2 separate regions of the Homo sapiens genome follow, and region 1 is linked to region 2. Evidence: promoter capture Hi-C in human tissues and cell types (Jung and others, 2019). All regions are on one chromosome and are shown on one strand. Each heading gives the region's core, a stretch centred on a gene start or on the middle of the fragment in contact. The rest is flanking DNA. Distances are from core to core; before and after follow the strand shown. Region 1 overlaps LOC105374957 (a long non-coding RNA gene). Region 2 holds the start of MBOAT1 (membrane bound glycerophospholipid O-acyltransferase 1).

What was found. The method cuts DNA at HindIII sites, captures the fragments that hold promoters and counts their contacts. A contact is called where the count stands out against the background at its distance.
Region 1: a fragment that was not itself captured here is called in contact with the fragment with the promoter of MBOAT1 in region 2 in 1 of the 25 tissues and cell types used here (dorsolateral prefrontal cortex).

What each region holds. Positions count from the first base shown.
Region 1 is chr6:18,745,576-18,749,493 of GRCh38, forward strand. It overlaps LOC105374957 (a long non-coding RNA gene), which reads right to left. Exons shown (of 3, transcript XR_926557.3): 2 at 2,514-2,579; 3 at 1,113-1,377. Among named protein-coding and RNA genes, the nearest start is that of TRQ-CTG1-1, 89 kb to the right of the region's middle. RefSeq lists an enhancer at 3,843-3,918. The HindIII fragment of the contact is 3,555 bases long and covers 721-3,918 here.
Region 2 is chr6:20,210,008-20,214,087 of GRCh38, forward strand. It overlaps MBOAT1 (membrane bound glycerophospholipid O-acyltransferase 1), which reads right to left and starts at 2,462. Exons shown (of 13, transcript NM_001080480.3): 1 at 2,129-2,462. The coding sequence starts at 2,227. RefSeq lists a silencer at 2,268-2,807 and an enhancer at 2,990-3,490. The HindIII fragment of the contact is 7,104 bases long and covers 1-4,080 here.

The DNA of each region.
Region 1 (3,918 bases), core at 1,248-3,747, 1.5 Mb before region 2:
ATCGTATTTTTTTTTTTTTTTTTTTTTTTTTGAGACAGCGTCTGGCTCTGTCGCCCAGGCTGGAGTACAGTGGCGCGATCTCGGCTCACTGCAAGCTCCGCCTCCTGGGTTCACGCCATTCTCCTGCCTCAGCCTCTCAAGTAGCTGGGACTACAGGAGCCCGCCACCGCTCCCGGCTAATTTTTTGTATTTTTAGTAGAGACGGGGTTTCACTGTGTTAGCCAGGATGGTCTCGATCTCCTGACCTCATGATCCACCCGCCTCGGCCTCCCAAAGTGCTGGGATTACAGGCGTGAGCCACCACGCCCGGCCCAAATCGTATTTTTATGTGCTGCATGGTATTACTTTTCAATACTGAAGACAATAACTTATGGTATGCAGTTACTGATCTCAAGTACTGCTCAGATTCAAAGTACAAGTACAGGGATTGTACTTCCCTGCCCTCTTGAAGTTAGGTATCATCATGTAACTAGCATTGGACAATGAAATGTGACACACATCACTTCTGGGCCAAAGCATTTAACTGCGGGTGCTTGATTCCGCAATTCTCTCTTTTCCTGCCAGAACAATCCTGGAAGCCAAGAGTTAAGATATGGCCCACATTAGCCTTGGTTTCTAAGTGGGTCTCATGAGCAGAACTTTCCATATTGGATGTGTCATATGAGCAAGAAATAAACATTTGTTGTTTTAAGCCACTGAAATTTTGAAGTTGTGTTGTTATTGCAGCACAACTTTGTCTTTCTGAGCAGTGTACGTGAATCAAAAGTTATAACCAACAGTGCCTGCAATTCTTACTGATAAAGTTACACTTATTTTTGGCACTCATTACTCATACACTATGCTTTAACTTTATTGACCTGCTTGCAGGTCCCTGAATGCTTGGTGTTTTCTCATATCTCAGCACATTGAACACCTTCTTTCCTCTGCTTGAAATAGAAAAGATTTTAGCATAGTGGGTGGTTAAAAATGGGCTATGGATTCAGGCTAGACTAGATTTATATCCTGACCCTTTCACTCTCTGTCTGTACTGACTTGGGCAAGTAACTTAACCCCTTTTTACCTCCACCTGCTTATCTGTAAAATGGATAATAATAGTACATTGATCATGGGGCTGCTGCAAATATTAAATATTTATTCATAAATAAAAAATATGAAATATTTTTTATTAAAAAATAAATATGAACCATTTAGAATAACAAGGTTGTTATTATTACTACTATTGTTAAAAACTCCACTTAGCTATCACGTTTTCCAGGAAGCCTTCCTGATACTTCCAGGTTCAATTAGGTGGCCCTTTGTTGAGCTGCTGTAATAGATTGTCGAGACATTTATCCGATTACGTCATATACTTGTCTGTCTCTTCTCTAAGGTGTACACCTGAAAAATATGGATTAAAAATAGAACAACATTGTATTCCTAGCACCTAGTAGTCAATAAATGTTTTCTGAATGAATAAAGAAATTTAGAGTCAATAGCTGTGGGCCTAAGCTAGTAATTACTAAGGAAATAATTATGAGCCTCAAGTAAAATTAATCTTATAAATGAGAATTGCATGAGTTAATCTAGTTACAGAAATGTTCTTTTAACTAACTTGATTGATTGAAGCTTCGTTTTTCTAGAGTTAGGTTAAATAGGATGTTATTTTCAAAAATTGAGATCATTTTTGATTTTCTCAAATTGCTGAAAGCACAAAGTTTGTATTACAAACAGTTTGAAATATAGCTGATCATTCTGTCATTAGCACCCTGGATTATGTTTAGAGAGGTACTCTACCCATCACACTTGATAATAAATGCCAACAGTTAGCATTACTGTTTGTGAGCACCCCAAATTGCTGCAAAGCAGAAATAAGGCTTAAATGTATCATCTTTATCATCTAAAATAATTGACGTTTTTGCGATTGTCCTATTTACAGTCATGGATTGATTTAGACATTTGGGAAAACTGACCCCGTTAGCTTAGTGAGAAAGAAAACCCCCACATTTTTGGTTTTGATAAGTTTGTAATTTCTCAAAAGAAAATTGCCAACTTTTTTTTTTTTTTGGTATCCAGTTCTAAAGTTGAGGACTTACCTTCTAGTATCATCAAACTCTGTATAGTCAGTGATGCCTCCCCCGACGAAGTTAACTGTTCTAACAATGATCTTCCAAGTTAAAACTTTTGAAACATGGGAAATACATTTTATCCTGGGTGTGAAACCTTTATCACATTAAAGTTGGGAGACATTTGTCATTAACGATATTTAGAATTTCTACCCCCACCATTGCAGAGCTATGTTTCCTATTGTCTGAACCCTGCATGCAGAGCAGGAAGCTCATTTTCTTGTGGTTGAGCAAAAATGAAGGTTCTTAGTGGAGATAAGTAGGTTTTCCTTTTCAGTATAGAAATAAATAACAGTAGTAAATAAATTGAGAGGAGGAAGTGAAGCCAAGAATGAACTCAGGAGATGCCACTGTGCCCAGGTGTGCCCTTGAGGAGGAGGGACAAGGGGTCATAGCCTCAGGACTTCTTACCTGTTGGCAGGGAGGGATGCTCATGTGGCTTCATTAACTGTTCTTTCTTGGGTAGAAGGAACAGGTCTGTGTATGGAAAAAAGAACTTCAGAATTTGTTTTTGTTCCCCCTCTGTTACATCTGTGCCTCTGATTTCTGCCACAACCGATGTGTACGCATTCCCTTTCTCCATCACTGAGCTTCAGTTTGGTTGTATGCTCCAAGATTGCTTAAAAGACTTTCAATGAACCTAATTCTATTCTCTCCTAAAGCATCTCTTTGAATAACCGTTTAAAGGAGCTTACAGCCTTATTATAGCAGAAAGCCATTGTTGGTGAATTCAACAAGGTGGGAGACCACTGTGTTTGTTTCAGTAGTGCAGGGCGGTGGTGTTAAGCCCCTGGAAGGCACTGAGCTCTACACTGGTGCAGGCTAAGGAGAAAAGATTAGGAGCTGGGCTTGAGAGCTGCTCTTCTGGGTCCTTGCAGCGTGCGCTCACAGCAGGCAGTGGAAGTGTTATGTCTACTCCTGGGCAGAGGGGCCGTGGCCCTGGCTGCAGGTATTTCTGGTAAATGCAGGTTTGAGGGCATGAGGATGATGCTTTGAGCTTCCTCTGAATGTTTCTTTCCGCTTAGCTAACATAAATGTTACACATTCCAAACTTTTATAATAGAATGAGTGGGAGACATTGGCAGTTGTCAATAAAACAATTGTCTATGGTACTCCTTATGTAACAAACTGGATTTTTAAAACTTATTTATCTTAAATTTTATAATATTTTAACCTGTGGTTTTTCCCTCTCAAGACATCCAAATGGCTAAAAAATCTATGAGCAAATTATTCAATCAGTCAATAACATTAAAAAAAGTACACATTTTAAACCCCTTTTTATGGTAAATATGTAAAATGCCAAAGCACACCGTGTCTTGACTTGTATGTTCGGTTGGGATTTATATGCAACTTTTAAAAAGTGTAAAGAAAAGCAGTTTTTCTTTTCTAAACTTTCTTCTCAGTTAGGTTCTGCAAAACGCTCCCCCAATTCTCATGAAGTCTAACAGCTGCTATTAAAGCTTACTTTACATGCATGTAGTTAGCAGATATGTTGAAAACGTTTAACAAGTTAAAATGCCAGATATAGTTAGCATTTGTAATTACAAGTATTTTATTTCTCCATAAATAATTCCAGGATTGATTAAGTATAAGGTGACACTAGCCAGTTTTTGGTCTTTGTTTTTTTTTCTCACGATCCTCAACCTTCTTTCTTTTTCCTTGATTTCCTTATTGTCTTTCACCAGTATTTCCTAGTTCCATTCCTTTTTCTTGACTTTGTTCTTTTCTATATTCTTTCCTTTCCCAATTTTTCCTCTGCTTTTTAATTTTCTAGTTTCCTTTTTCCCTGTTTTTTTATTGTTACTTTTCTTTCTCC
Region 2 (4,080 bases), core at 1,212-3,711:
TGTTGATTCCCTTAAACTTGCCCATACCCCTCTAAGTAATTCATTAAAGTCTGTTCATTTCAGCCAATGGGGTTGGTTCCCGTTTCCTGCAAGGACCCTGATACAAGAACCTTCCTAATGTCGGGCATTTCACATCATATAAAATTTCTCAACCTCAAAAGGTAGGTCTTATTGTCATCTCCCATTTTACATGAGGATGCTGAGTCTCCAAGAGGGTAGAGTACCAGCTGGCAGTCACAAAGGGAAGTTTGCTGGCAGAACTGGAATTGCACCCAGGTCAGTCTGACATCTAAGCCTTTAAAAAGCCTTAAAAATGTGAAAGGGAAAAAACACACAAAGCTTCCAAACTCGCAAGCCACAACGTAGCCTCAAACGACCTTATTTATGGTTTGGGGATTTTCCTTGGGCCTAAAATAAGCTACCTGGGGCACTGCCTTTTAAGTGCTTCTTCCACCAAGGGTCATCCACACTCACTCCTGCTGGAGGGTGGTCAGACTGACCTAAGAGCTAAGAGATCTCAGGTGCTCCTGGCCATGGCAAACATTTCTCCTTCGGTTTATCCCAGAAGTCTCTCCCTCCCTCCCTCCCTCCCTCCCTCCCAGTTTTAAACATTCCTAAGGCTCTTTTGTTCCTTTTTATGAATTAAAACCAGAATTACCTTTATAGGAAAGTAGGGGATGCAATTGAAAGACATTAAAAACATTATTCTAGCACCTCCCAGCCATAACTTGCCATGGTCCTTTAGCCATACAAAAAGCCTTCCTGGAGTCTTTCTAGCTGTGTAGAAGAGCTTAGAAGAGAAAATGCAATTAAAATACCTTCTGATAGGGAGTGGAGAGGTAAGTACAAAACAAACTCCCCTTAAGGAAATTCAGCTATGAGTTTTATTTAATTTCAGAACTAAAGAATTTGCTATTATGTCCGCCTCTGCCTGGGTCCCTGGGTCTATCTCATCCTCACCAGAAACTAAAGAGTAATTTACAAAAGCACAAATGCTTTGGCACCGAAACCCTTCCCAAGTTTCTGACTTTCTGTATTCTGCAACTGATGAGAACGCAATGGTCACATCAGGTGGAGTTCTCAGTCAGGTCCTCAGAGTGAGCCAGGTATGAGGGTGGCTCAGTAAACAGGACCCGAATAAGGCAAATGTCCAGGTCTCACTTTCTCATTGCTGAAGGGGTGTGCGCAAAGGGCAGCAGGTGTGCTCTTGTTAAAAGGAAAGGAAAAGGAGCACTGGTGAGAGGAAGGGGAAGAAAACCAGGCAAAAAAGCATGAAACAAAACAGGAGCGCAGTGGGTCCTCCCCCAGCATGCCCTGCCCAATTCTATTTAAATCAACATTTACTGATTGGGTCACTACTAAGTATCCCGCAGATCTAGCCTGCAGCACCTGAAGAGACAAGGAAATGAGTAAGACGGGCTTCATCTTCAGGAAGGTTTCTTGCCAGGAATCACTGTTGTTGCCATTTTTAATTTTAATGGTTGTAGATAATTCCTGGACAGTTCAAATAACTTCACTGGGGCCCCTCTCCTCCCCCTAACCTGTCCTACTCAGAAGCTCCAGCCCCAGGCATATGAGCCAACCGAACCCTGGGAAAACCAAAGTGTCCTTGTGTGTCCCGCATCACACACGGTACAAAATAACTGTCACCCCTGAACAAGCCTCGCCTCAGAAGTCTAAAACCCAGGTCCTGCATTCAAAATCTATAGACTACCGTCTACAGATTCATCGCGCTTGTTTTTTAAGTAGGGTCATCTAAATTAAAAACAATAACGACTTGAGGACACTGATGAAAGAAACACTGGTTTCATGTATCAGACTACTTCAGAACTTGATTACAGGAAACGAGGCAATCCCAAACTTAAAGAAAAAAAAGTTCAGTAGAACTTGCCGCGCAGGCTGTACCAATATTTTTTCACACTTACAAGGAGAAAAACACTAACACCAACTCAAGAAGGGAAAACACACACACACACACACACACACACACACACACAAAAACCAACTGTCTAGTGTGTGGCTGTAAAATACGCCATGGAGGCGGAGGGACGGTGGCTAACACTTTCGCCCGCCCCGTGCACGCGATCGCTGGGGAGCTGGGGTCGCTGCGCTCCCGGCCTGCAGTTACCTGGTCCAGCGGGATGCCCAGGAGCTCGCTGAGCGGGTGCAGGTAGGTGGAGCCCGTGGTGCGGTAGGAAAGGCTGGACGGCTGCGGCTCTGCTGCCATCCTGCATCTTCGGGAGGTGGCTGCCCCTGTCCCAGCCCGCAACACCCCCTGCTCGGCGTCCTCCCGCCCGGGTGCTCTTGGGTGGTTGCCCCGAGAGGCGCACGGCCGCCTGGTTCGCGGGGGAGCGAACGGGAGGCCGGGGAATGCGAACCGGCGCAAACTCTCGAGGCGCAAACTCTCGAGGCGCAAACTTGGCTTTGGCGCTGGCGCTGCAGCCACGGGCGCCGTAGGAGGGCCGGGCCCAAGGCGCCCCGCTTCCCGCTCCCTTCCTCTCCGCGCCCATTGGCCCGGCCGCTCGGGACGGCCCCGAGAGGAGGGAAGGAGGGAGGAAAAGTGGGGACTCCGAGCCCGGCCCCCAAGCGCCGCCCGGCCCGCCCAGCCTGGCCTGCACCGAGGCCGACCGGGAGAGGGAAAGCGACGCCAGCGGGCGCCGCCGCCTGGCCCTGCAGCTGGAGGCGGGACGCGCCTTTCCTCCTCCCGGGCTGACCGTCCTAGCCCCCCGCCAGACAAAACGACCTCACCCAGCGGGCGCCTTCCACTAGAGAGCACCACCCACCCCGCCCCACCCTGTTTTGGTTTCGCCGCCGCAGTCGAAGCGGCTGAGTGGCTGCGTTTCCCTTTCAAGCCGTAGAGGGTTCCTCTGCCGGTGGCTGGAAGCTGGAGCGCCGCAGCCACCAGACTCCCTACTTCCTTTACCCTCCTCTGCGCTAGGCATAGTTTCCTACACCCTGATCTGACATGTTCGGTGTCACACAAGCAAATACAGGGGACTGCTAGCTTCGGGTCACTTCCGTCTCTGTGGAGTGAGAGTTATTTCACCTCTGTAAGAAACGGTGTTTACTGTCATACTATGTGCATTCTGATAAGTCATTTGCATGCCACGGGTCCTCAAAAAGGGTGCCTTGCTCCTTAACTTGTCTGCCCCCGAACACCCACACATCAATGTTACTTGGAAAACTTTTCCAAGTTATTGCTAGGTTCTGAGAAACATAAAAATCTTGAAGATCCTTTTCAGGAATCGCTAGCTGATGAAAAAGGGTTTCAGGAAGGTAATATTCTGGGCTGCTGGGTAGAAAACCAAAGAAAGTGAGCTCACGTGGCCCCCAGCCTCCGCTGGGTAAACCGGCATTCGATCAGACAGGCAATGACTTTCGGGGCCGACTTTATCAATGTGGCCTCCAGCTTCAAATTAAACCGAAGGCCTGTCAGGCACTGGCAACAACTTACTCTCCAAGACTCAGGCCTCACTCTTGCCTTCTTCAGGAGTTTTATCACCATCAAACTGCACTGAGCATTAAATTGCCAGGCCAGAGTTTCTCAACCTATGTCCCCTGTGGAGGAGGAAAAAAAAAAGTCTGTACCACCACTCCCACAAGCTAACCGAATGGAGATGTCACCACCAGATGATAATCTCTACCACTCACAAGCAAACCCACACTACAGACAGACAGACACATGCACACACGCACACAGGCATATACTTGAGGATCACTAGGCTAGATAGGTTCATTTAATATCATAGAGTCCTGGAAAATGACCAGCATTGGAGCAACATTCATCTTATCTGGAGCTAGATGACAGCTGAAGTGAGGTATATGAGAGCAGACGGAGCTTTGTTTAAAAGGAAAAAAAAATCAACACTCAGATATGAGTTGCTGGAAAACAGAAGTAGGTCAGTTTGGGAAGTATTTCTGGAGCAAGTGCCTCAGACCCTTTATAATTTTCACAAAGCTATGCCTTTTAGACTTCAAAGAATAGTCCTCACATAGGCCATATATATATATGTGTGTGTGTGTGCGTGTGTATATATATTTATTATAAATATATTAATTTATATAATCATATATAAATAT